Regions from separate parts of the Homo sapiens genome. Here regions 2, 3, 4, 5, 6 and 7 are each linked to region 1. Evidence: promoter capture Hi-C in 16 types of primary human blood cells and fetal thymus (Javierre and others, 2016). All regions are on one chromosome and are shown on one strand. The core of a region is centred on a gene start or on the middle of the fragment in contact, and the rest is flanking DNA. Distances in the headings are between cores, read along the strand shown. Region 1 holds the start of FOXC2 (forkhead box C2). Region 2 overlaps ZCCHC14 (zinc finger CCHC-type containing 14). Region 3 overlaps FBXO31 (F-box protein 31). Region 4 has its middle 69 kb from the start of C16orf95. Region 5 has its middle 82 kb from the start of LINC02181. Region 6 has its middle 65 kb from the start of LINC02181. Region 7 has its middle 43 kb from the start of LINC02181.

Region 1 (3,576 bases), core at 281-2,780:
CCCGGTGTACAGGCTCATCGCTCGCATGCTGCACTGGTAGCCCCCGGCGGCCCCGGCCTCCAGGCCCTGAGCGCACGGCTGGCCGTAGGCGGCGGGCGGCGCGGCGGCGTAGGGCAGCGCCAGCGGCGGCACCACCAGGCCCGCGCGTCCGGCCCCCGGGCTCAGCTCTCCGCCCGGCGGCGACGTTCGCAGGGTCATGATGTTCTCCACGCTGAAGCCAGGCAGCCCGTTGGGCGCCGCGGCGTGGTGCTCCGGCAGCGAGCCGTCGGGGGAGCCGGCGGGCGTGGAGGCCGCGCTGCGCGGGCTGCCCTGCAGCGCGCTCTCGGGGCTCAGCGTCTCCACCTTGGTGATGACCGGCAGCGCCGGGGACGCCGCCTCGCTCTTGATCACCACCTTCTTCTCGGCCTCCTTGGGGGCGTCCGCTAGGTGGGGGGTGGCCGGGGCGCCCTTGGACGCCGCCGGGGGCGGCTCCTTGAGGTGGGCCCGCTCCTCCTTCTCCTTGGACACGTCCTTCTTTTTGAAGCGCCGCCGGCGCCGCAGGAAGCTGCCGTTCTCGAACATGTTGTAGGAGTCCGGGTCCAGGGTCCAGTAACTGCCCTTGCCGGGCTTCTTGTCGTCGCGGGGCACCTTGACGAAGCACTCGTTGAGCGAGAGGTTGTGGCGGATGCTGTTCTGCCAGCCCTGCTTGTTCTCCCGGTAGAAGGGGAAGCGGTCCATGATGAACTGGTAGATGCCGTTCAAGGTGATCTTCTTCTCGGGCGCGTTCTGGATGGCCATGGTGATGAGCGCGATGTAGCTGTAGGGCGGCTTCACCAGGTCCTTAGGCGCCGCGGGCTGGTGGTGGTGGTAGGGCGCGTAGGAGCGGCCCATCCCCGCGCTGTACTGCTCCGGGTGGCCGGAATAGACGCCCATGGGGCTGGCCATGCCGCCGTAGCTGCCCGCAGCCCGGTAGTAATTCTGCTCGCTCAGGTAGGGCACCACTCCCAGGGCGTTGGGGTCGGACACGGAGTAGCGCGCCTGCATGCTGCTTCCGAGACGGCTCGCCGGCGCCCTCGCGCACGGACTGCGGCCGGGGGAGCGAGGGGGGCCCTGAGAGCGAGAGAGCGCGAGAGAGCCAGAGGGGGAGAGGAGGGGAGCGGGAGGGGCGGCCCCGGGCTCCTGGCAGCCTCCGGGGCGAGGGTGCGCGGGCGGCGGCGCTCGGGCCGAGCAGGGGCGCGCGCTTTCAGCGGACCGGGCGGATCGGCATCCTGGAGGGCGCGCCCCGGGCAAGCGCAGCGCCGGCCCCGCTCCTCGCTGGCTCCAGGACCCGGCGGCGGCAGCGCGGGCAGGCGGGCGGCCGCGGACCCAGCGGAGACGCCGCGGCCTGGGGACCCAGGTGGACCCTCGGCCCGCGCGAGGAGGGGCGCAGGAGGCTCTCCAAGCCCCCAGCGAATCGGCAGCCCCGAGGGTCAGCGCGCCGGGGTCCGAGCGGCTGCCCCGCTGAGCCCAGAAAAAGAGGCCAAGTCCCTTTTAGGGATTGGGAAAAGTTTCAAAAGTCTTCTTGCTGAAAGCGAGTTTTTACTTTCCTCGGGCCACGCCCCCTCCCGGAACTTTGAGCCAATCACCCGGCAGCTGAGAGGAGTCGGCGCCAATCGGGGCGAGGAGCGCAGGAATCCGTCGGCTCTAAGACCCCGCCGCCCCGGCCTCCGCGGCGACTCCGTCTTCACTTGAAAACTTTTTAAAAAGTTATATCTTATTAAAATTTATTTTATGATCACATTTTGGTGAATGGGCCCACATGCCCAAAACAAAAAGATAGCCACTTTCCTCTGTTAAAAAAAATCAATTTGAAATATAAAATAGAATGGATTAATAGAGTAAAATATCTCTCCCAAAGACCTTGTAAGTAGCAATGATCCTGGGACATTTTTCTTATTAATGAGTGATGAAGCGAATAATTAGATTTCCTAATTATGGGGGCCCAGGTGTAATGGATTCAAAGCAAACGCGCTGGATTGGAATGGCAGGGCCTCTCCTGGATGTTATACTTATTTAATCAAATAATTAATCATCAACAGGGAGTTTCCAGGCTCGGGGTCGTCAAGGATAACCTATCGAGGTTTTAGAGGTAAACCCTACAAACTGAGTTTCCCTCGCTCCCCGCCGAGGAGCCAGGCAGCGGAGTGCATAGAGGGGAAGGTAGCAACGTGCTGACTGACAACTTAATCCTCCGAATTCGCGGGGAATTCGGTAGATCATCCGCGTCGCTGCGAGCAGTTTTGTGGGGTTTGGGGAAAAGGGTGAAGTGACTCTGCTATTTCCCCCTTTCGTCTCCCGCGTGGACACTCGCAGCCTACCAACTTCAGCTTCGAAACTCGTCTCCCTTTTCCCAGGTAGAAATTCCCTCTAACAAGCTGACCCCGCACTCCCAGAAGACCGGGACAATGCAGCGACCCACCCGGGCCAGGCAGAGCCGAGTTCCTGGGCCCTGCGAGGAGAAACCCGAGCCTGTTTTCCGCGGGGGCTTGGCTCGAAGGCGCGCGCAATGAGCGCCGCGCACCGCGGGCACCAAGCGTGGACGTTTCCCGTGGCCCAGGCCGGCGCCGGCCGCTAACACCGACCCTAGGGCGCTGTCCCTGCCTCCTGCTCCTGGCAACGTCCCCCTGGGAGCCTCCAAGTTGCTTTTCTATATTTCAGCCTTTTTTTTGTTTTGTTGGGTGGGTAGGGTGAGTTAGGGAGCGCGCTCCGTGGGAAGACTGGGTGAGCGGTTGATTGCAAACGGTTCAAGATCCCTTCGGGATGATATTATTCGGCAGGCAGACCTGGAGCGACTTGGATCTCCTTCAAGGATTTCTCCTTCCCTCTAGGAATCCCGGACAGTTTGTTTATTTGTGGACTGATTATTTATTCCTTCCACACCTCAATAATCAGATCCCCTTTTCCCACTTTCCCTGAAGGAGTGAGACACCCCTTTAACAAGGCTAAACACGGGCAGAATTTTGGAAGTTGCTGGTCTGGTTGGGCAGGGAAGAGGGCTTCAGGGAGAACATTTGTATTTCAGGTTTCCTTGCACCCTTCCTGGCTGTTCATCGGCTGCGTATTCGATTCTCAGCAAAAGGATGTTGAGACAACCCACCAGGCCTCTTCGCTTCGGCCTCTTCGCTTCGGGGAGGCGACTAGAAGGCAATGGGGCGTGCCACTTATTTCCAATAAAAGAACAGAAGACGAAAATGTAGATGCATTATCTTTGTCTCCTGATCAATTCAAAGCCAAAGGGAAGCTACAAATCAGGTTCCTTTACCTTGAATATTCCACTTCTGAAACATTGTTTTTATGAGTATTCTGGGCTCTTTTTCTAACCTGATCCTTTTTCTTCTTTCTTTGAAACAAAGTAAAATAAAGCTGCCCAGTTCTCAGCTCACAGGCAAATGATTTGAGCTTTCTGCCCCAACCCTAAACTCCCACCATGACTTTATTATTTTTAATAAGCTAGTATTTCCGCATCTAGCTTAAAAAAAAAAAAGGACTAGCAAAAAGTGCCCTTCTCCTGCAGCGCATGACAGGCACACTGAGTTCGTGTCACGATTTTACTGGAAA
Region 2 (3,576 bases), core at 708-3,207, 850 kb before region 1:
GTAAATCATATCAGACCAGCAGGCGGCACCATGGAGCACCTGCCCCAGGTTTTCCTGCAGTAGCAGAATTCTGCTGGTGTTGGATGGGTCTGGACACACCTCCTCTACCTTGTCCTCTCTTCCAGCTATGTCAGCTCTATCCTGAAGAGAACTTGGAGAAACTCATTCCTTGCTTAGCTGGTCCGGACGCATTTTATGTGGAGCGAAACCACGTGGATCTGGACTCAGGCCTGAGGTGAGGCCCTTACCAGGCACCCGGCGCGTCCACAGCTGGCAAGGACAGGCTGGTCCTGTGGTCAATGCTGTGGTCCTCCAAGGAGCTCTGGGAGGATGCGCGGTCACCTGGACCTGGGTCTCTACTTGGCCTCTAGGGATTTCCATTAGTTCTGGAGGATTCGGGAGCCCTCAGTAAGCTGAGAGTGGTTCTGAGTGTGTGAGGAAGGGAATTCCAGGGTGGGTCCCACCACGTCTTGGGCTTTGGCAGTCCTGTGAAATAATCCTGGGCTGCTGTTTCCATCCTGTAGTCCAAGGTTGAGACTATTCCCAGATAAAATTGGCGTCTCTTAAACAGTTTCTCTGGACCCTCGATCGTGTCTTGGCTCACGTGGCACACGAAGTAACATGGCCGACCAGTTCCGTAAATGTGCTGCTGCCGGGGCCCTGGGGACCAGTGTCCAAGCACCTTTCTGGCTGGTGGGTGGCACTGATCTCATGTCACAGGGCATGACTGCTGTCGTCAACCTTGGTGGCCATGAATACAGCATTGAGAGGAAGGGCTTGAAGAAGCAGTGGCAGTCGGGCAAGAACTCAGTTGAATTAAAGCAGGAAGAATATGAGGCTCTGGCACTTCTGGCTTTTTTCCTCTAATACACATTTCTCTTGATTAAAAGTTAAATTTTTTTCTTTCAATTCGTCAGCAGGAATGCCATTTTAATGTTGATAAGACCACTTGTTTGCCTTTTAGGTACCTGGCCTCATTACCTTCTCACGTGTTGAAAAATGACCATGTCAGGAGGTTTCTCAGCACTTCCTCTCCCCCACAGCAGCTTCAGAGTCCAAGTGAGTTTGTAAAATATGGTTAAATATAAATTAAAAAAAAAAAAAACAGCTGGGCGCAGTGGCTCATGCTTGTAATCCCAGCACTTTGGGAGGCTGAGGCGGGCGGATCACCTGAGGTTGGGAGTTCAAGACCAGCCTGACCAACATGGAAAAACCCTGTCTCTACTAAAAATACAAAATTAGGCTGGGCGCAGTGGCTCACGCCTATAATCCCAATACTTTGGGAGGCTGAGGCGGGTGGATCACGAGGTCAGGAGTTCAAGACCAGCCCGGCCAATATGGTGAAACCCCGTGTCTACTAAAAATACAAAAAAATTAGCCAGGCGTGGTGATGCATGCCTGCAGTCCCCGCTACTTGGGAGGCTGAGGCAGAAGAATCACTTGAACCCGGGAGGCGGTGGTTGCAGTGAGCCGAGATTGCACCACTGCACTCCAGCATGGTTGACAGAGCAAGTCTCCATCTCCAAAATAAAATAAAAATACAAAATTAGCCGGGCGTGGTGGCAGGCTCCTGTAATCCCAGCTACTCAGTAGGCTGAGGCAGGAGAATCACTTGAACCCGGGAGGCGGTGGTTGCAGTGAGCCGAGATTGCCCCACTGCACTCCAGCATGGTTGACAGAGCAAGACTCCATCTCCAAAATAAAATAAAAATATAAAATTAGCCGGGCGTGGTGGCAGTCGCCTGTAGTCCCAGCTACTCGGGAGGCTGAGGCAGGAGAATCACTTGAACCCGGGAGGCAGAGGTTGCAGTGAGCCGAGATCGCACCATTGCTCTCCAGCCTGGGCAACAAGAGCAAAACACCGTCTCAAAAAATAATAAAATAAAACAAATATTTTCATTGTCTGTAAATTTTTATGGTATTTATTTTTAAATTTATAGGTCCTGGCAATCCCTCCCTTTCTAAAGTAGGTACCGTGATGGGCGTGTCTGGAAGGTGAGAAATCTTCTATGTAACCAGCACAGTTCAGATAAGCATTTTACAATGTTTACTTTGAGTTCTGTGTAAAGTTGTTCCAAGAATTAAGTCATGCTCAAGTTGAGTCTTGGATGATATTGAGAAGAATTGAGTAGAGATGATTGAATTTACGATTTCCAAAAAAAGAGTTCTCTAAGCCACTGGAATCAGAATTCCCAGGGACTCCTCCCCAGTGCAAGGTCCTGGGCCCCATCATAGACGTAGAAAGTCAGAATTTCCGAGAATCTGGCTGTGAGAAACCTGCTCCCAGAAGCATAGGGTCGTGCTCCTGAGGAGCGTCCTCTGTCCGCACGGGCCCTGGGTAGCTGCAGTCGTATGCCGGCAACACAGAGGCTCCCATCTTTGCTGACAGTGAGGTGGGCTGTCACAGATCAGTGCACACGCACCCCCATAGGGAGTCTCGTGGAGATGTTGTCTGGGCGCGAGGTTTCGAGGCGTAGACTGGCATCCTCCTGGTGTCGGGGTAGGGTAAGCGCCCAGTCAGCAGGTGTGACTTTGCAGTTAAGGAGCAAGGCCAGAGTGGAGTGCCGGTCACACCTTCCAGCCTTCTGCGTTTTACTTTTCTAGAAAAATTGTATTTGAACATTAAAGATTTAATAGTCTATTTTGATGTATGATTTATCAGTGTCATTCTGTGACTTAGAAGTAACAGAAATACCTATCGGAGTAGCATGTTTTTAAAAAATACAAGTAACAGAAACTTGGCAGCTAAAGCAGAAGTCTGGTGGGGACAGAGACGTACACATACATAATACACATACGTACACACAAGTAGACGCATACTCCGAAGCACGGGCAGAGGCATGTGTGTGTATATGCACAGCCGCCTGTATGCACACGTGTGCACAGACATGCATTACAGAAATCTTAGCTGCAGAAAGGTGGTTGGGGAGGGAGGGCAGTCATAGCACAGCAGTGTTGGCAGTTCAGGGTGGCCTGTGACAACAGGGCCGGCCAAGAGGCAGAGGCTGGCACAGAAAGGCCTGGAAGTGAGGTCTGTGGTGGAGTCTGTGGTTGTGGAAGCCACAGTCTCTCTGTGTCCCTCCTGCCCCTGTCCCACAGGCCTGTGTGTGGAGTGGCTGGTATCCCGTCCTCGCAGAGCGGAGCCCAGCACCACGGGCAGCACCCGGCCGGCTCCGCCGCCCCCTTGCCTCACTGCTCCCATGCGGGCAGCGCGGGCTCAGCCCTGGCCTACCGGACCCAGATGGACACATCACCTGCCATCCTCATGCCTTCCAGTCTGCAGACCCCTCAGACCCAGGAGCAGAATGGGATTCTAGACTGGCTTAGGAAACTGCGTTTGCACAAGTATTACCCCGTCTTTAAGCAGCTCTCCATGGAGAAGGTATGTCGGTTTTCTGGCTGGCCGTACAGAATTGCTAGATTGTTTACTCAAGACCTCCCTGGGGGCATTGAGTTTCCAAACCAACACAAGGTGGATGAAGTACGGAGGCCGAGGCGCAGCGCCTGTTCTTAAGGGAGACGGTGGGCTTTGCGGAGGCCGCCTGCAGCTGCAGCCAGCCACAAACAGGACATGTT
Region 3 (3,576 bases), core at 338-2,837, 760 kb before region 1:
CTGTCACCTGGGCTGGAGTGCAGAGCGGCGATCATGGCTCCCTGAGGCCTCAACCTACTAGGCTCAAGCTGTCTGCCCGCCTTAGCCTCCCAAGTAGCTGGGACCACAGGCACCCACCACCACCATGCTTGGCTAACTTGTTTTTGTAGAGATGGAGTTTTGCCATGTTGCTCAGGTTGGTCTCGAACTCCCGATCTCAGGTGATCCACCCGCCTCGGCCTCCCAAAGTGCTGGGATTACAGGCGTGAGCCCCTGCGCCCCAGCCTTGGGGCCTGTCTTTGAATGGGAATGAGACTGTGCAAACCGTGGACTACCCTGTGTCACCCACAGCTCAGTGGCCTGCCTGCCGGCCCTCAGGGGCTGCTGACCGGGAGACCAGCCAGAGCACGAGGGGGTCAGGGCTGTGTGGGTTTTGGCCTGATTCTGCATTTGGTTGTTTCTGGGGGCCATGTAGCCTGCCTGCATTAGGAAAGCGCTGTGCCATCTGATCATGAGCACCTCTGCACCCCCTGGTAAGGTGACCTTGCAGCAGGAGCTGTGCCCTGCCTGGGTAGGCACCCACTAGGTAGGACCGGAGCAATCCTGGCAGCCGCCACCTGCACCCGTGCACTTGTTTCTCCTCACAGTTTCAAGTAAATCCGTTTTTGAAGGCTTGTTGTGTGTTTTGTGATTTCTTTGGGAATATGAGTTGGACGGAGGCGAGAGCCTTAAGCCATGCGAGCTGTCGGCCTGGGAACCCAGACTTCCCAGCTTCTTGAGGAAGTGTCAGATTTCCCGCGTTGACAGAAGGGAGCATTGAAGGGATGCCTTGGAGCCCAGACAGTGGTTGTCCCTGTGTCCTTCCCTTTGACCTGGCATCAGAGGTGTCTCGAGTCCCTACCCAGGGACCCAGAGGAGTTCGGGCCCCAGTAGATTTTCTTAGATTTAAGCCAAAGTGAGTTGCATTATCTGCAACGAGGACAGATATGGGAGGGAATGTGCTGAGAGCCAGGCAGATGAACTGAGGATCTCATTGATCTTTCTTTTGTGTTTACTAAACTCATATGTTCTTGTAAACAGTTCTTTAGCATAGACAGTGAAAGTACCCCCTGTTCTCATCCCAGCCTCCCCGTGAGTCACTGCTGCTAATTAATGCTGTTAGCTTGGAATTGTAGAAACAGGATGTTTTCCATGGTAATGCACTCAAAGTACACCCTCGATTGGCAGAAATTGGCAAGTGTGATTTTCCAAGTGTTGGCAGTGATGCAGGGGAACAGGAACGCAGGTGGGGCAGCTGTTTTGGGGACAGCTGGTACTAGCTCATGGCACTAAGGACACGGGCCCAGGGACTGGCATCTGCATCCTGAGGTGTCCACCCTCGGGCAACGCGAGAGCCCAGGCATGGGCCACGCAGGGATGTTCATTGCTACACTGTGACAACTGTCACAGGCCGGAAGGAGGCAGGTGGACTACGGTGGAGCCACCCATGCTGTCACCTGGCAGACGGGCACACAGCCTTGTTCCGTTGCAAAACAAGTGAGAGATGGTATTGGTGTAACATGTAAAAATGCAAATACTTAATTTTTATCAATTCATGTGTGGGGAAAAGCTGAAGATACGCGTGGGAATGGTGTGGTCACTTCTAGGGGTGTCGGAGGGTAGAACTTCAACTGTTTTGCTTTAAAAAGTAAGGATCGCATGGCAGAACTAGCATCTGTTCACCTGTTGATCCTGATACCGTGGATTACGAGACCCCCCCTCTTTTCTGTGTGGTTCAGAAACAAGCCCCTCAGACAGGACACAGTGCCCAGGGGCAGTGACCTGCAGGCCCACCCACTGCCATCTCCGCTGGTCTCGGGGTTGCCACATAGCCTGCCAGCTGCGGCTGCTTCCTGGGTGCCCTCCAGGGAGAGCAGGGGATCGTGGGTCCCCGGCGGTGGGTGTTTCCTTCTCCGGGGAGAGCAGGGGATCGTGGGTCCCCGGTGGTGGGTGTTTCCTTCTCTAAGGTTTGCTGCTGTTTCCAGGCCTTTCTGTGGGGCCTGGGTCCTGTCCTGGGGCCAAGCCACGGGGTCATCCTCAGCTGCACTGGGCGTGCCAACCACAAACGAGTCACTTGCTACAAGCAGCACCATGCAGCCTCCTGTCTGGACGAGACCCTGCCCCCCACAGACTGGAGACGCACCCCGATTTCCCAGGTCACAGGGGGAAGTGTGGATCTGATAAGGGACTAAATGTGGCGTCTTTCATATGTTTCTCTTACATATTTTATTTTAAAATGAAAAAAAAAATAAGGTCATGGGGAACGAGTAGAAGGCTGCTTCCTGCTGCAGTTCCCCTCTTGCTCCAAGAGTGGGGATGGCCCAGCTGGGGGGACCTGCTCCGGGCCTGGGTGCCGCAGCCTCACCTAGACACAAGGGCACAGGCTTTGTTCTCCAGGGATCTGTCCGACACCAGCATCCCCCCGGGGGCTCAGACCCTGCACTTTTCTGTCTGCTGCTGGGGTTGAGGGGACAGCAGATGGGCAGCGAGGGCTGGTGGCTGCCCAGGCTGGCCATGCCCAACACCAGCAGGTGAGGCGGAGGCCGAGAGGGTGTTGTGGCCGGGTCACCTGGGCCCATATGGAGCTCACTCCTCCCTGTGGGGGCCGCTTGGCTGTGCTGCCGGAGGCATGGCGCTTTCCCCACCCGATGGATGGCGGGGCTTCATCCTTCCTCCCCTTGCAGGAGGCACGGTGCCCAGGGTCCTCCGTTTGTCCCCCCTCCTTAGGGGAGGTCCCCTTTTGTGGTGTGACCTCTAGTGGGCATGTAGGGTCACTGCAGAGGGCTTGCCCCCAGCCAGCAATGTGAAACAAAATGCCATTTGGATAGTTTCCAAACCTACCCCGGCCCCCTCCCCATTTTGACTTGAAAATCCCCAAGTGACAGAAGGCACAATGCGTGTCCTTCCTATCTTTGCCTCCGTCCCTCTTCTTCCTGAGGGGTGCGATCCCTGGCGCCTTCCCTTCTTCCTTGTGTGCCGGCGTGGGCCCTCCCTGCCGTCCCTGAAGCCCACCTGCACTGCCTCTGAGCCGCGGAGGTCCTGGAAGCAAGGTGGAAAGGTGCTGGAGGGCCAGGGGGAGGCGCCCCTGCAGCGCTGTCCCTCCCCAGCAAACAAGCAGCTGGGCTCTGCTGGGTGTTCTCCATGGCACCGTGTTTGGCAGACATTAACCACGGAACAACCAGGAGTGCTGGTGTGGCTGGGATCAGCCCACTCCACAGGAGAGGAAGCAGCAGCTCAGAGAGGCTGAGTAATTTGCCCAGGGTCACACAGCCAGGGAGTATTAGCCCAGGGCCCCAGCCCCGCAGCCTCACCTCTCCTGAACATGCTCCTCTAGGAAGAGCCGCCGCCGGTGACGCTCAGTGTCAGTTGCTCTGGGACCCTTTCACCGAGTGTGGGGTGGAATCAGAAGCGCCAGCTCACACAGCAGTGGGGCCAGAGCAGTCCCGGCTGAAGCTAGGCGCTGATGAACTTGGACTGGAAATCTTAACTTGGGCTCAGCCAGAGTGTATTGCTTATAAAACCACGACTTTTCCCTTCCCATATGAGGACTTCTAGTAC
Region 4 (3,576 bases), core at 278-2,777, 680 kb before region 1:
ATCCCTTCTTTTTGTCCATACATACTCAATATTTATCTCCTACTTATAAGTGAGAACATGTGGTATTTGATTTTCTGTTCCTGTGTTAGTTTGCTTAGGATAATGGCCTCCAGCTCCATCCATGTTGCTGCAAAGGACATGATCTTGTTCTTTATTATGGCTGCACAGTATTCCATGGTGTGTATATACCACATTTTCTTTATCCAGTCTACTGCTGATGGACACTTAGATTGATTCTGTGACTTTGCTATTGTGAATAATGCTGTGATGAACACACGTGTGCATACGTCCTTCCTGTAGAATGATTTATATTCCTTTGGGTATATACCCCATTATGGGATTGCTGGGTTGGATGGTAGTTCTGCCTTAAGTTCTTTGAGAAATTGCTGCACTTCTTTCCACAGTGGCGGAACTATACGGCCCCACCAGCAGTGTGTGAGCATTCCCTTTTCTCCCAACCTCAAGAGATCCACCCACCTCGGCCTCCCAGAGTGCTGGGATTACAGGCGTGAGCCACCATGCCCGGCCGACAGGTTCCTGTTTAACAGAGTTGCTGGTCCACCCTGGCCAGCTGAACTAGAAGGTCACTAATTTGTCTGTAGTGACTCGGCTTGTGTTGCTCACAAAGCCTCGGCTCCCCTTTTCTCAGGGACAGTTTCTGGCATGTTGTCTAAACCTTCCTGGTGTCTCTCTTGAGTTTTGGCTTGCCATTGCTCATCTGTGGAGTTACCAGTGGGATGGTGGGTGACTGTCGTAAATGATGTATTCATTTACTGAAATTTGATTGTGTCTGCCGGGTGCTCGGTTCAGTGGTGGGGCAGGCAATGCAGGGGTGAGTGCAGTCAACGTGGCTCCTTACTCCGAGTGCCCAATCTCGTGGATGAATCTCAGCAAAGCCTCAGTTGCTCCATTTGCAGAAAGGGCATGGGGTTATTTCCTCGCCTCTCTCCCAAACAAAACCTCTGAAAACACACTGGAAGCCCAAACATTTCAGCCTCCTCATTACCAAAATAATTTTAGGTGTGTTACCAGTTACAAATAGTGCAACCCAAATTAAGTGGCAAGAAATGTATTGGAATAGATGAAATTGTGGGAGGGATTTTGTTTTTCACTTTTACTTTTGAAATGACTATAGCTTCATAGGAAATTACAAAAATAGTACGAAGGATCTCCCGAGCCCTCCCTGCAGCTCTCCCCAGTGGGGGTGTCTTATGTAACTGCTGCAAAATAGCAGCCCCAGGAAATTGACATTGGGACAATACTAGACTCCAGACCTTGTTCAGATTCCACTGGTTTTTACACGCATATGTGTGTGTGTGTGTGTGTGTGTGTGTGTTGCTGTGCTCTTGGTCTCTTGTATAGATCTGTGTAACCACTACCACCATCAGGATACAGGATAATTTAATCACCAGAAAGGAGCTTGCTGGGGCTACACAGGGGAGATTAAAAAAACTGACAAATAGGCTGGGCACGGTGGCTCACGCCTGTAATCCCAGCACTTTGGGAGGCTGAGGCAGGCGGATCACAAGGTCAGGTGTTTGAGACCAGCCTGGCCAACATAGTGAAACCCTGTCTCTATTAAAAATACAAAAAATTAGCCGGACGTGGTGGTGGGCACCTTTAATCCCAGCTACGCGGGAGGCTGAGGCAGGAGAATGGCTTGAACCTGGGAGGCGGAGGTGGCAGTGAGCCAAGATCACGCCATTGCACTCCAGCCCGGGCGACAGTGCGAGACTCTGTCTCAAAAAACAAACAAACAAAAAAACCCCAAAAAACAAAAAAACCGACAAATACAATTTACATATATTTATGGTGGAAAACATGTTTTGAAATTTGTGTACATGGCGAAATGGCTAAATCAAGCTAAGTAACATATATTACCTCACATACTCATTTTTTTTTTTTTTTGGTGAGAACACAATCTACTCTTGTAGCAATTTTCATGTATATGATACATTGTTGTTAACTATAGTTACCATGTTACTTACAATAGCTCTCTTGAACTTATTCTTTCTCTCTTTTTTTTTTTTCTTTTTGAGACAGAGTCTCACTCTGTCGCCCAGGCTGGAGTGCAGTGGCGCGATCTCGGCTCACTGCAAGCTCCACCTCCCAGGTTCACGCCATTCTTCTGCCTCAGCCTCCCGAGTAGCTGGGACTACAGGCGCCTGCCACCATGCCGGGCTAATTTTTTGTATTTTTAGTAGAGATGGGGTTTCACCGTGGTCTCGATCTCCTGACTTTGTGATCTGCCTGCCTCGGCCTCCCAAAGTGCTGGGATTACAGGCGTGAGCCACCGCGCCCGACCTTGAACTTATTCTTTCTATGTAACTGAAATTTTGTATCTTTGACCAAGATTTTCCCAATCTCTTTCCCCCAACCCCAGCCCCTGGTAACCACCATTCCACTCTGTACTTCTATGAGTTCAACTTTTTCAGATTCCACAGATAAGCGAGATCATGCAGAACTTGTCTTTCTATGCAATATTATGTTTATATTTTACTTAACGTAATGACCTCCAGGTTTATTGATGTTGTTGCAAATGATAGCCTGAATAGTATTCTATTGTGTATATACAACCCTACTTTTTCTTTGTCTATCCATCCATGATGAGCACTTAGGTTGATCCTGTATCTTGGCTATTATGAATAGTGTTGCAATAGACATGAGATTGCGGATGTCTCTTCAACATGCCAATTTCATTTCTTTTGGATGTATTCCCTGTGGTAGGATTCCTGGATCATATGATGGTTCTATTTTTAATTGTTTGAGGAATGTCCACACTGTTTTCCGTAGTGGCTATACTAATTTACATTCCCACCAACAGTGTATGAGGGTTCTAAGGGGGGGAGAATTTTGAATGTTAAAAAACGTTACGTGATTAGAAAATGTTTATTATCAGAGAAAGACATCTGATACATGACCTCTGCCAGTCAGAAATGGGGGTGATCTCTTTTTAGTTGTCTGCCAATTGTTGTTGCTTCCTTACTTTAATAACTGTCGTGCTTTTCTTCTAGGGACTTTCTTTAGAAACCTCTTCTCCATGGCTCCTTTCATTTTATTTTCCTAAAATGTCTACTTGCATGTTGACTTGTATATCCATCCCACCTTTCCTGGGCTTGTTTTCAGCAGGTTAGGGCTGAGGGCTTTGTTTCCTCATATCCTCCATGACGGCTAGGACTCTTGGTTGTTCAATAAATGCTTCAGTGAGTCTGTTCCTATGAGGACAATGGGCCCACTGTTGGAGGGTGGAGCGAGCAGGGCTCTGAAGTCAAAACTGCTGGGTTCAATCCCCGTTTCACCTGGTCATGGATGGGAGAGCAATTTGCTCAGCTTTCCTGCACCTTGCCTCATCCTTCTGAAAATGGAGGGAACGTACTTCCTGGTACCCAGCCCTGGGAGGGTGCTCAGAAAAGACTAAGCGGCTTCCTTTGTGTCCAGGGCAGAAGGATCTAGGGCTGCTTGAGGCATGGTTCCCCCAAATCCAGGGGTGCCACCCTCACTGTGTGTTCCTCACAGACTTGGAAGATAGAGAGAAGGACTGTGGGAAACTGGACAGAGCCGATGAGACCATTCCAA
Region 5 (3,576 bases), core at 657-3,156, 570 kb before region 1:
TTTATTGCAGGTTTATTGCTGAGGGATTTCTCTTGTTAACTCACTGAGCAAGACTCAAATGACAGTCAGGAGTGTTCGGATTATCCCTGGAGTCCTAACCAACATATCCATGGGATAATTTAGGGGACTGGTGAAACTGGAGGGAAAATGATCGCATCTTTATCTTCTCTAAGGCCCAATTGAAATTTAGCTTTTCCTTCCATGATGGACATAGGCAACAAGCCAATCACGTTAGCAGAATCTGTCATTTTGTCACCAACAAAATCACAGATCTTTTCTCATCATATATAGCCATGGCTGCTTTTCCAAACTCTAATTTGAGCTCAAGTGCTACTTCGAGGTAAGGACGTTATTAGACTCTCTGTGAGATCCATGTTTCTAAAAAAGCACACATCTGACTATATCACAATTTAAAATATTTTGATAACTATTTCAATGTAATTGTTTCTTTTGTAATTTCACAAATTTTATACATTTGAAAACATTCTGAGAAGAGCTTATTGGCTTTGTAAGACTTCCAGAGGGGTCTGAGATCCCCAGAAGGTTAACAGTGCCTGGATTGGAGAGAAATGCTTTTTTCCCTGAAGTCGCTGATAATTTATTTTTAATTTTTAATTTTTAAAAAACCCAGAGCCCCTTTGCAGAGCTCAACTGCCTCCTGCTTCTCACCGAAATCCTTTCTTGTTTTTCAGAGCAGAACGCAACCGGCGCCAGGGTCCCGGGGAGAGAGGCAGCAGGAAGTGAGGCTGAGGGGCTGTCTGTGTCGCGCAGGGAGCCGGGCAGGGCTGTTTTCCATGGCTGCCGGCCCTCTCCTTAGATGAGTACACAGCTGCTTTTCACAGCGCTCAGCCTGCCCTCCTGGAGGGATCATTTGAGGAGAAAATCCATCTCAACATCCACATGTTGTGTATCACTTGAACGCGGGGCAGGGCAAGGAAGACCAAAGCTCCCCCACTTTCAGGAGGCGACTCCTCCTTCTTTGCTGGACAGGGGCGAACAGGAACCACGTTGGCTCTGGAAGTTCACAGGGCAGTGGATCAGGGCTCAGGAGGAAGAAGATGGTGCAGCCGCAGGCACTTCTGAGTGACGAGAGGCAGGCATGCGTTGAAGGTGATCTGCAGGGCACTCACACACAGGGCTTGGCAAGGTCCCGCAGTCGTGGGGAACGTGGAAGTTCTGACCCAGGCCTTCTGTCACCGGTCCCAAGCCCACGTCGTTTCTGCGACAGCGTGACTGACCAGTAAGTCATCTGCTTACCAATGTCCCCCGAGCCAAGGACAGCGATGGAAAGCCGTGCGGTATCACTCCGGAAGAGGAAAGTCGGTGGCCTTTTAAGCAGGATGAAGTCAATCCTACAGGCCACATGGTTTGCCACGTGGCACATGCCTCCCCCTGTGACCTCATTCAATCCCTGCAGAGCCCCTGGCGGCCATCGTCGTACGGTTGGCACCAGCATGGACTCCAGAGCCCACCACCTGGCTTATGGCCCCAGCTCTGCCCTCATTAGCGGTGGAACCTGGCCAGCAACTTAAGCTCTCCATGCCTCCGTTTCTTCATCCATAAAATAAGAATAGCACTGGTACCCCTGCGCAGGGCTGCTGCGAGAATCAAGTGAGTTAGTATCTGCTTAGAGAAAGCCTGTTAACAGTGCATGCTTCCCATGGCTGTGGTAACAAAGTACTGCAAATTTAGTGGCTGAAAACAACACAAGTTTTGGAAGCTAGAAGTCCGACCTGCGTCTCACTGGGCTAGAATCAAGGTGTGGGCAGGGCTAGTTCCTCTGGAGGCTCCAGGGGAGAATCCCTTCCTTACCTTTTCCAGCTTCTAGAGGCCGCCTGCATTCCTTGGCTCATGGCCCCTCCTTCATCTTGAAGCAACATTGTATCTTTCTGACCTCAGCCTCTGTCATCACATCGTTCTCTGATTGTCTATTCAGCCTCCTTCTTCCATATTAAGGACCTTGTGATTGCATTTGACCCACCTGGATAACCCAGGGGAATCTCCCTATTTTAAGGTCAGCAGATTGGCAACCTCCATTCCATCTGCTACCTGAATTCCCCTCTGCCACAGAAGGTAACATAGTCACAGGTTCCAGGGGTTCGGGTGGGGCCATTCTTGGGGCAGCATTAAACCCCCAAGCTCGTGGATGTCTGGGGGCTAGCTGCCACATGTTACAGCCATTTTGCCTGAAATATTTTCTGTTTTAGTGGTGCCTTCTGGAGGTTCCCTTTAAACATGGAAAACTTCAGGAAGTGAAACGCATTCATTCATTTTCCAAACATTGTGCCTCAGGGAGCCGTGCTAGGCTCTGGGGATGCAGTGGTGGGCAAAACACAGTCCCTGCCCTCATGGGATTTGACATGAGTGTAGAGACAGGGGATTAGAAAGGAAATAAATGAAAACTGAATGATCGATTGTGACGTGTGCTTTTGTGGAAACAGGGTGCCTCGCTGGAACTTAACGTGAGGGGAGCCAGTGTGGTCTGTGGAGGCTCCTTTGAGCAGGTGACATCTGAGCTGCCCTCTGAAGATAACAAGGATCCAGACATGACGGGGAGAAGGAGACGCTGCAGGCAGAGGACAAAGGTGCTAGATGGACCCAAAGGTGGGAATGGGCTTGGGTGAGAAAAGGCACGTGCAGCTGGAGTGCAGGGCATGGGGGTCCTGGGGGAGGTGGACAGGGGTCAGAGTTAGAGGTCGGGGTCAGGGGCCCAGATCACAAAGCACCCGGCCTTGTGCTTGGAAATGGGGGTGAGTTTGCATTTAATTCTGAATTTTGAGACCGGGCGTGGCATAATTGAAATGCTATGTTCTATGTGTTCACACATCGGTGGAGTGGGAGGGTGCGGCCCTGAGTTTCTGAGATTCTTAGCTTGTCTCAGCATCAAACCCTGCCTAGAATTGGAAGGTGGCAGCTGGGTGCGGCGTTCTCAATGGTACCATTCTACATAAGAGCCACCTAGTTATCCATTCCCTACTTCCTGCGATTGACTGTGCCTGAGGTTGCCACTGCCCTGCCTGTGCCCTGGGCACTCTCACGCTCAGCTTGTGATGGTCTGAATGTTTCTATCTCCCTAGATTCCTGTGTTGGAAACTAAGACCCCATATGATAGTATTTGGAGGTGGGGACTTTAGAGGGTGATTAGGCCGTGGTGGCCCCTCCCTTGTTAATGGGATCTGTGCCTTATAAAAGGCTCTGGAGAAATAGCCACATCCTTTGCCCTTCTGTCTCCTCTGTCAGTTAAGGACGCAGTACTCCTCCCCTCTGAAGGGCACAGCAACAAGGCGCCACCGTGGAAGCAGGGTCCAGGCCCTCACCTGACATGAAGCCTGCCAGGACCTTGATCTTGGACATCCCAGCCTCCAGAGCAGGGTAAGTTCTGCTTCTTATAAATTACCCAGTCTCAGATATTTTGGACTAAGACACAGTGCATGCTGGTGACCTTGTGTAAGTACCAAAAATGTCCCAATTGGCAGTTCCTGTCCCCACCTGATAGCTCCTCTCAGCCCACACATGGGCAGACCAGGGGTGCTAGGGGGTCCTCAGCAGCCATGGATGGGAGTTGGAAGATAAATA
Region 6 (3,576 bases), core at 618-3,117, 560 kb before region 1:
TGCATGTGTTGTGTGTGTTATGTGTGCGCTGCATGTGTGTGTGTTGTGTGTTGCGCGTGTTGTGTGTATGTGTTGTGTATGTGATGTGTGTTGCACGTGTGTGTTGTGTATGTGGTGTGTGCTGTTTGTGTGGTGTGTGTGTTGTGTATGTGGTGTGTGTGGCATGTATGTTGCATGCACGAGTGTGTTGTGTGTGTTATGTGTGCACTGCATGTGTGCGTGTGTTGTGTGTTGCGCGTGTTGTGTGTATGTGTTGTGTATGTGATGTGTGTTGCACGTGTGTGTTGTGTATGTGGTGTGTGCTGTTTGTGTGGTGTGTGTGTTGTGTATGTGGTGTGTGTGAGTGTGTGTTGTGTATGTGGTGTGTGTGAGTGTGTGTTGTGTATGTGGTGTGTTGTGTGCGTGTGTGTTGTGTATGTGATGTGTGCTGGGTTTGTGGTGTGTGTGTTGTGTATGTGGTGTGTTGCATGTGTGTGTCGTGTATGTGTTGTGTGTTGCGTGAGTGTGTGGTGTGCATGTGAGAAGCTGCTGCTCTCTCAGTGGGTCCTGGTGAGCTCAGCCCGCCTAGTGAGCATCTTTCTCAAGGAGGTGAGAGTCTCACCCCTGGAGAGGTGCATTTTTCTTGCGCCTTTTCTGGCCACTGCTTGTGCTTATGTGAGGAAGGAACGGTCTATCCCCACGTGATAGTGAGAACCAGCTGCTCTGGCTTGCTGGGAAGGTCCCAGGGCTTGGTTTGGGGCGTGATTTAATTGGCTTTCAATGGGTTTTGCCCCATGTGCTGACTAGCGACAGTAGCGATGCTGGTGAAATGAAACATCCCCATGGCATCTCATTCCACCTTCATGACAACTCTGTAAGGTGCATGGAAGTTTGCATCCTGGCTGTCTAACCGACAGGGAACCAGGGGCTTATGGGGCCAAGCAGCCTGAGATCACGCAGCAAGCCTGGCAGGCCTGGCTGGGACTCACACTCGCCAGGCTCTCAGGGCTGCTGCGGACGCTGCGACCTTGTCATTTACCAGTGAGTCACAAACCACTCAGACTTAGGGGATGGGAACAACAACATTCTTTCATTTTCTGCTCGTGAACCGTACTTTGGGCAGGGATCTGCAGGCACAGCTCATCTGTGTCTTGTGTGGTGTTAGCTGCGGGGGCTCCAAGCTTAGAGGTGAGTTGATGGTGGGGTTCTGGAATTTGCTGAAAGTGTGTTTACTCATATGTCTGGTGTTGAGGCTGCTTGTTAACTGGAACCTTCATTAGGGTCTCTCATCTGGAACCTTTGCACGCGGTCTGCCTCGTGGCTGCTTGGGCTTCCTCCCACCATGGAGGCAGAGTTCTAAGCACACAGGGTGGACACTGGTGGCATTTCTATGGTCTAGTGTTGGCAGTCATTTCTGCTGTACCTTACTGGTTGAGACAGTCACAAACTTCCTCTTGAACCTGGGCACGGGTTCCTCACCACTTGACTGGGGGAGCATCAGGGTCACATCCTAAAAACAGCATGCGGCCTGGGATATGTTGTGGTGGCCCTCTTTAGAAAATGCAAATGGCCACCAAAGCTACTGCCTGCCTCAGAAGCGTCCAGTGTCTCTGGGGGATGTTCAGGTCCACTGCAGTCTTCAGAAGCCTCCTGCTGGGACTCAAACCACCGCATGCTGCCTAGGAGCCTCTGTGTGCATCTCAGACCTCCTGGACCCTTTAAGCTGAAGATACTTAGTGGCACTCTTATTGATAATAATCTTTAAAATAATTTAAAATATAATTTATAATATATTTGTTCATTTATAAACATATATATTACACAATTATATTTATCATAAAGCTCCCATATCAATCATATATATCTGTAGAATTTTATATTTTATTTAGGTGACACATTTTATATATGATATTTTTATTAATTTTATGTAATCGTTATATAGAACAAATTATATAATGAATATAAGTATATTTGTATTTATTAAAATGTTTATTTATATGAAAAATTTTACATTAAGTATAACATTTACCACGTTAATTAGTGGTAATATATTGCCTCTAAAGAAGATTAGACATTATAATCATATTGGGGATCTCTGTCTAAGTATTGGTTGTTCAAAAGTAATTTCAGTGAGGACCATGCCTTTTCCAGGAGGAAGGATTTTCTAGGGACACATCTGGGGGTATTTCTGGGGAGTTTTAGTCAGAGCTATAGGTTGTTTTCAGCACAATGGGAAGAGTTACTGGCTGTGAAAAGGGAGCGGTCGGAAGATCTGCTGTCTAAGGCTCCTAGCTAGTGAGTTATCCCACATTAGAATGGTTAATGGGGTGGGGGTTATCCCACGTTAGAATGGTTAAGGCTGGGGAATCCCATAACAAACATAGAAATAAACAAACAAAACTCCACATAGGCTCATGGATTGCCTAAATGCAAATGGACCATTTGGTTTAATTTCTTTAAAAAGTCATGGGCACCCAGAGCTGGAAGGAAGCGTGGAGACCAGGTAATCCTGTGCATCTTAAATTGGGAGGCGCACAGCCCCAAGGGGAGACGGAACGGGCAGGGGGAGCCACAACGTAAACACGCTAAGCTTTGATTTTTCCTAGACGCCAAGTAATCTAAAACATTTCCAATACTCAAACAAACATGGGTATTCTTTGGAGTAAGATGTAAAATCTCCATAAGTTTTTAGGATAAAACAGAAGACTTCAAAGAAATTCCACCCTGGCAGCAGGCTGGCCTAAGCTAAGATCACAGATGCCTGGCTTCAGCCCCTCTGAGGTACCAGTCTGCTCTCTCTGCCCGGGAAGCTGCATGCTTGCTGGGAGGCCCTACCCCAGCTCTCTGCAACACTAGCTTCTTGAGCAAAAAGTGCCGGGAAAAAAGAAAGAAAAAAGATGAAATAGAGGGGCTGTTGCTTGTCTACCTCCACGAGGAGTTAGGGCCACAGCTTCCAATGTTGGGCTGATCTGAACTGAGATGTCCCTTAGGTGTGAGTACATGCTGGATTTTGAAGCTGTAGTATGAAAGAGTGAAAAAATCTCATTTATATTGATTACATAATGAAATGACAATATTGAAGGTACATTGGGCTAAACAAATAAATTCCTTGGTTTCTTCTTACTTTTTGTTTTGTTTTGTTTTGTTTTTTGAGAAGGAGTCTGGCTCTGTTGCCAGGCTGGAGTGCAGTGGCGCGATCTCGGCTCGCTGCAACCTCCGCCTCCCGGGTTCAAGTGATTCTCCTGCCTCAGCCTCCTGAGTAGCTAGGATTACAGGCGCCCGACACCACACCCAGCTGATTTTTGTATTTTTAGTAGAGACAGGGTTTCACCATGTTGGCCAGGATGGTCTCGATCTCTTGACCTTGTGATTTGCCCGCCTCGGCCTCCCAAAGTGCTGGGATTACAGGTGTGAGCCACCCCGCCTGGCCTCTCCTTACATTTTTAACACGTCTACTATAACATTTAAAATTATTTATGTGGCTCACATTGCATTTTTATTGGCTGCTTTGGGCTAGAACATATGGTGTTTCCTAATGTAAAGGATCATGCAACCCTGTCCTTCATATAGCATCCTGGGGGACCAGTGTTTGGCAGA
Region 7 (3,576 bases), core at 552-3,051, 530 kb before region 1:
ATTTCAATCCAATAGATTTTTGTGTGTTTGCTTTATGAGGAATGAAATGGAACGTCATGACTTCAAGGGCCCCAGGGACATGTGGATGGGTTTCTACAGAATGTAATGCAACTTTGAGTGAGCGTTTCTGGGCTGAGAGTCCATATCTTTCAGAAGAATTTGAAAAGGCCCCAGGATCCCTTCAAAAGTTAATAACAGCTGACAGTTTCCCAGTGCCTTTTGCTGATGGCTGATTGGATGGGGGCCATATTTTAGGTGCCCTGACTGCCTCTTCTAGAGGTGGCGTGGGGGTGTCTGGAGGATGGAGTGAAGGTGGTCAGCTATGGGAGTGGGGGTGGGGGGTGGGAGAGAGCAGGGCTTTTGAAGATGCTTCTGTATTTGAGTCCTAGTATTTCACTTTGTGGAAATTGCTTAATCTCTCTGAGCCTCCATTTCCTTATCTATAAGATGGGATCTAGGAAAATGCACTTCCTAGCTCATACAATAGCTGGGGGGAAGGGAGGGTGTTCAGTAATACAATGTACAAATGAGATAGCTATACAATGTATATATATGAAAACTACTTCCTAGATCGTAGGGTAGCTGGGGGGTTCAGTGATACAATGTACATATGAAATAGGTATACAATGTATATATATGTGAAAACTACTTCCTAGGTCCTAGGTAGCTGGGGGTTTCAGTGATACAATGTATATCTGAACATATATACAATGTATAGCTTGGATTTAATGATACAATGTACGTATGAATACATAGGTACAATGTGTATGTATATACAATTATGACTGAAGCATAACAGTTCCTTTTCAGTGCAACTTTCTCTCGCTATGGTTATGACAGCTGTCATAGTAGTTGCCATTGATTGAGGACTTACTATGTCTTAGTTACTCTCCCAAACCTTTTTCCATGTCTTATTCCACTTAATCTGTCTAGGAAACCTTTGTGGTTGCTCCTGTAACACTGAAAGGCTCCGAGAGGATAGATAACTTGTCTAAGGTCACACAGCTAGTGAGTGGCAGAGCTGAGACTTGAATTCAAGTCTATCTGACTTGAAAGTTTGTGGCACCAGCTACCAGGGTGGAGTTGCATTCACTGTATGCCATGCTCCCTGCTTGAGCCCCAAGGGAAGTGGTGAGGGCAAGTGTTGGCGCATCTGCCAGATCTACCTTAAACACCCCCTGCCCCAAGTACAGGCATGTGCAAAGTGCCTGAGAGCCCAGCCATTTTGGTGGATGTGGGCCAGGTCAGCAGAGACTGTGCAATCTGTTCTGACTGTTAAGGTGGAGGTAACGCTAGGCTGAACCCCAGAGGACTCCCGAGGCTCTGGAGCAGGTGAGGAAGGGGGATGTCTGGAGCCACCCCCAAGGCCTGTGGCTCTCCCTGGCAGAGTTTTGCTGAGGCATATGATGCATACAAAATGCTCTGTGTACACTTGTGTAGGAAAAATCACCACCTCTGCAGAGGCTTGTTTACTAGGAGGGGAGGCGCATTCACAAATGAATAAACAAAAACAAGACCCCAGTCACTAATAAACATGGACCGCTGCACTGCAGGGTTCCCCTCTTCCTGCTGGGCCACCTCTGCCCGTCAATGGGTCTTGCAGCCCCGCCTGCCCCCCGTCGTGGTGTGTGAGCCCTGCAGGGTCAGAAACGCTAGGCTGAGTCTCCACCACCTACTCCACCACCTAATGGTTGAGTAACTTGGCTTTTAGCTCTGCAAGCCTGAGAGTCCTCACCTAAGTGTGACATGGGGCTAATCCTTCCCTTAACAACACCCATTTAGCACACTGCTGTGACCATGCAGTGAAATCGAGGACATTGTAAGAGGTTGCCACATGATGAGTATCTCCTTAATAAATGCTTTTCCTTCTAAGTGCTAAATAAATCTGAAAGAATAAATACACGTGAACTCGGAAAGGAAAGTTCTCTAGTCTCTCTGTGATTGGAACACACCATGTCTCTGGGCTCCCTTCACTGTGCTCTAGCGTGAGCGCTCTCTGCATGCTGGAATTGGAATTCACCCTTCTTGCCGTCCTGCTTGTCCTCCACAATGCACCCCTTTAGGCTCTCAAATGCAATCATTGCTGTGTTCTAGAACGGTGGTTCTCAAACTGGCTTCTTCCTTTGCAGTGTGCAGCATTCGGTGGCAGCCAGGGGTCATCTCAGAGAGAATGGGGGTTGGGGAGGTGGGCTGCAGACATGCTCTGGAGCCTGTGTGTGGTGGATTCCTTTCCTGGCATTGTGTTTATTCAACATGAGCCATGTTGCAAGGAATGGATTTCTACTAATTGTTCAAGCACCCACAGCTGCACATGTTTTGCTCTTAAAAATCTAAGAGTAGGTTCAGGCTTCTCCAGTTGTCTTTCCTACCCACCTCCCAGTGTGCTTTCTTGCCTGGGGCCAGTGCTTAGGACCTAGACATCTTAGGGGCCATTATTCAGGTGCCCGCAAATGGTAAAGAACACAGCGCTAGGAAAAGGTGAGAGCTTTACTACCCAAGCTACCTCCTTCTCCTGCTGTGCTTCCCATGGCACGGATCCATGACTGGCAGCTGAAGGGAAGGGGACCCGCTATCACTGCGCTGTGCTGGAGAGAAGGTTGGGGAGCAGCGCTGGAAGAGCAAATGCAAAAAACAGGTGTGAGGACATGAAAAGCTCCCAGCAAATGCTGTTTGTAGCCCTGGAGGGAGGGGGCAGTGACCATCAGGAAAACAAAAGGCTTCAGTAGCAGAGGTCACTCCTTGGCCCATTAATCCTTTGTGCTGGGGATTTTACAAGCTGTCAGCCCTCCTCCTTTGGGTCTGAGGGAGGGGTTGAACTCCCCCATTAGCTTTATGATGGCAGTTTTTCCTCCAGACACTACAGGGAGGTAATGCTTTGAGGATTTCTTGAGTTTGTCCCTTCTTACCAGTTAATAACATACTTGAAATGCTTGTTACCATGTGGGATGGGGACACAGCCTAACCAAGGCCCTTTCTAATCTGGGTCCTGCTTAATTTATGAATGCCCTCAGCATGTAACTCTGAATACCGGCCACATGGAATCATTTGCAATTTTCCTGAGCAATCCACACCCAGGCCTTTGCACAGGCGGTTCCTTCTGCCCGGAGCACGCACCTGACTGGTTCCTACTCATGCTTCAGAACCCAGCTCAAATATGGAGCTGGGGTTGGAATCTAGACCTGTCTCCACCTAGAACCCAGGTCTGTCTTCTTCTGGAATCCAGGTCTCTCTCCCTCCGAATGGCTTGGTCTTTACTACACAGTGGGACACACAGACCCTGGCCATGATCTGGGCTCCCCTATCCTACTTTTACCTCCTAGGACTTCCCGTCTAGAGCCCCCGGCCCAACTCCAGCCACTCTGGGCTCCTTCCTCACACCCAACGTGCGAGTCCCCTCCCTGGCCTTTTGCACGTGCCATTCCCTCTGCCTGGATGCCTTTCTCCCAGGTGTCTTGGAACTTTCTCCCTTCCTCGGGATATTTGCTCTGGGCGCTTTAGGACCGTGGCCCTCCCTGCCCATGCAAAGCGGCACCCCCAGTGCTCTGCAGTCTCCAGCCCTCCTCTGATTTTAAAAAC

What was found. Contacts are between HindIII fragments. The CHiCAGO score rates a contact against its expected background, and 5 or more counts as called.
Region 2: a fragment that was not itself captured here is called in contact with the fragment with the promoter of FOXC2 in region 1 in 1 of 17 cell types (M2 macrophages); the score reaches 6.9 in M2 macrophages.
Region 3: a contact is called between a fragment that was not itself captured here and the fragment with the promoter of FOXC2 in region 1, in 1 of 17 cell types (monocytes). The highest score is 5.4, in monocytes.
Region 4: a fragment that was not itself captured here is called in contact with the fragment with the promoter of FOXC2 in region 1 in 3 of 17 cell types (M2 macrophages, megakaryocytes and endothelial precursors); the score reaches 6.8 in M2 macrophages.
Region 5: a fragment that was not itself captured here is called in contact with the fragment with the promoter of FOXC2 in region 1 in 5 of 17 cell types (megakaryocytes, M0 macrophages, M1 macrophages and 2 more); the score reaches 8.9 in megakaryocytes.
Region 6: a fragment that was not itself captured here is called in contact with the fragment with the promoter of FOXC2 in region 1 in 4 of 17 cell types (M2 macrophages, endothelial precursors, M1 macrophages and 1 more); the score reaches 6.0 in M2 macrophages.
Region 7: a contact is called between a fragment that was not itself captured here and the fragment with the promoter of FOXC2 in region 1, in 6 of 17 cell types (M2 macrophages, M1 macrophages, M0 macrophages and 3 more). The highest score is 10.9, in M2 macrophages.

What each region holds. Positions count from the first base shown.
Region 1 is chr16:86,564,783-86,568,358 of GRCh38, reverse strand. It overlaps FOXC2 (forkhead box C2), which reads right to left and starts at 1,530. Exons shown (of 1, transcript NM_005251.3): 1 at 1-1,530. The coding sequence starts at 1,023. FOXC2-AS1 (FOXC2 antisense RNA 1) reads left to right here and starts at 598. Exons shown (of 2, transcript NR_125795.1): 1 at 598-742; 2 at 3,041-3,214. RefSeq lists enhancers at 227-810, 811-1,395. The HindIII fragment of the contact is 11,287 bases long and covers 1-3,576 here.
Region 2 is chr16:87,417,266-87,420,841 of GRCh38, reverse strand. ZCCHC14 (zinc finger CCHC-type containing 14) reads left to right here. Exons shown (of 13, transcript NM_015144.3): 5 at 126-235; 6 at 965-1,059; 7 at 1,941-1,995; 8 at 3,100-3,382. Among named protein-coding and RNA genes, the nearest start is that of MAP1LC3B, 27 kb to the right of the region's middle. The HindIII fragment of the contact is 4,091 bases long and covers 1-3,576 here.
Region 3 is chr16:87,324,064-87,327,639 of GRCh38, reverse strand. FBXO31 (F-box protein 31) reads left to right here. Exons shown (of 9, transcript NM_024735.5): 9 at 1-653. Among named protein-coding and RNA genes, the nearest start is that of C16orf95-DT, 8.3 kb to the right of the region's middle. The HindIII fragment of the contact is 7,131 bases long and covers 1-3,576 here.
Region 4 is chr16:87,246,515-87,250,090 of GRCh38, reverse strand. No RefSeq gene overlaps it. Among named protein-coding and RNA genes, the nearest start is that of C16orf95, 69 kb to the left of the region's middle. The HindIII fragment of the contact is 5,714 bases long and covers 1-3,576 here.
Region 5 is chr16:87,138,220-87,141,795 of GRCh38, reverse strand. No RefSeq gene overlaps it. Among named protein-coding and RNA genes, the nearest start is that of LINC02181, 82 kb to the right of the region's middle. RefSeq lists an enhancer at 457-1,656. The HindIII fragment of the contact is 3,962 bases long and covers 1-3,576 here.
Region 6 is chr16:87,121,225-87,124,800 of GRCh38, reverse strand. No RefSeq gene overlaps it. Among named protein-coding and RNA genes, the nearest start is that of LINC02181, 65 kb to the right of the region's middle. The HindIII fragment of the contact is 1,409 bases long and covers 1,163-2,571 here.
Region 7 is chr16:87,098,606-87,102,181 of GRCh38, reverse strand. No RefSeq gene overlaps it. Among named protein-coding and RNA genes, the nearest start is that of LINC02181, 43 kb to the right of the region's middle. RefSeq lists an enhancer at 2,464-3,179. The HindIII fragment of the contact is 4,577 bases long and covers 1-3,576 here.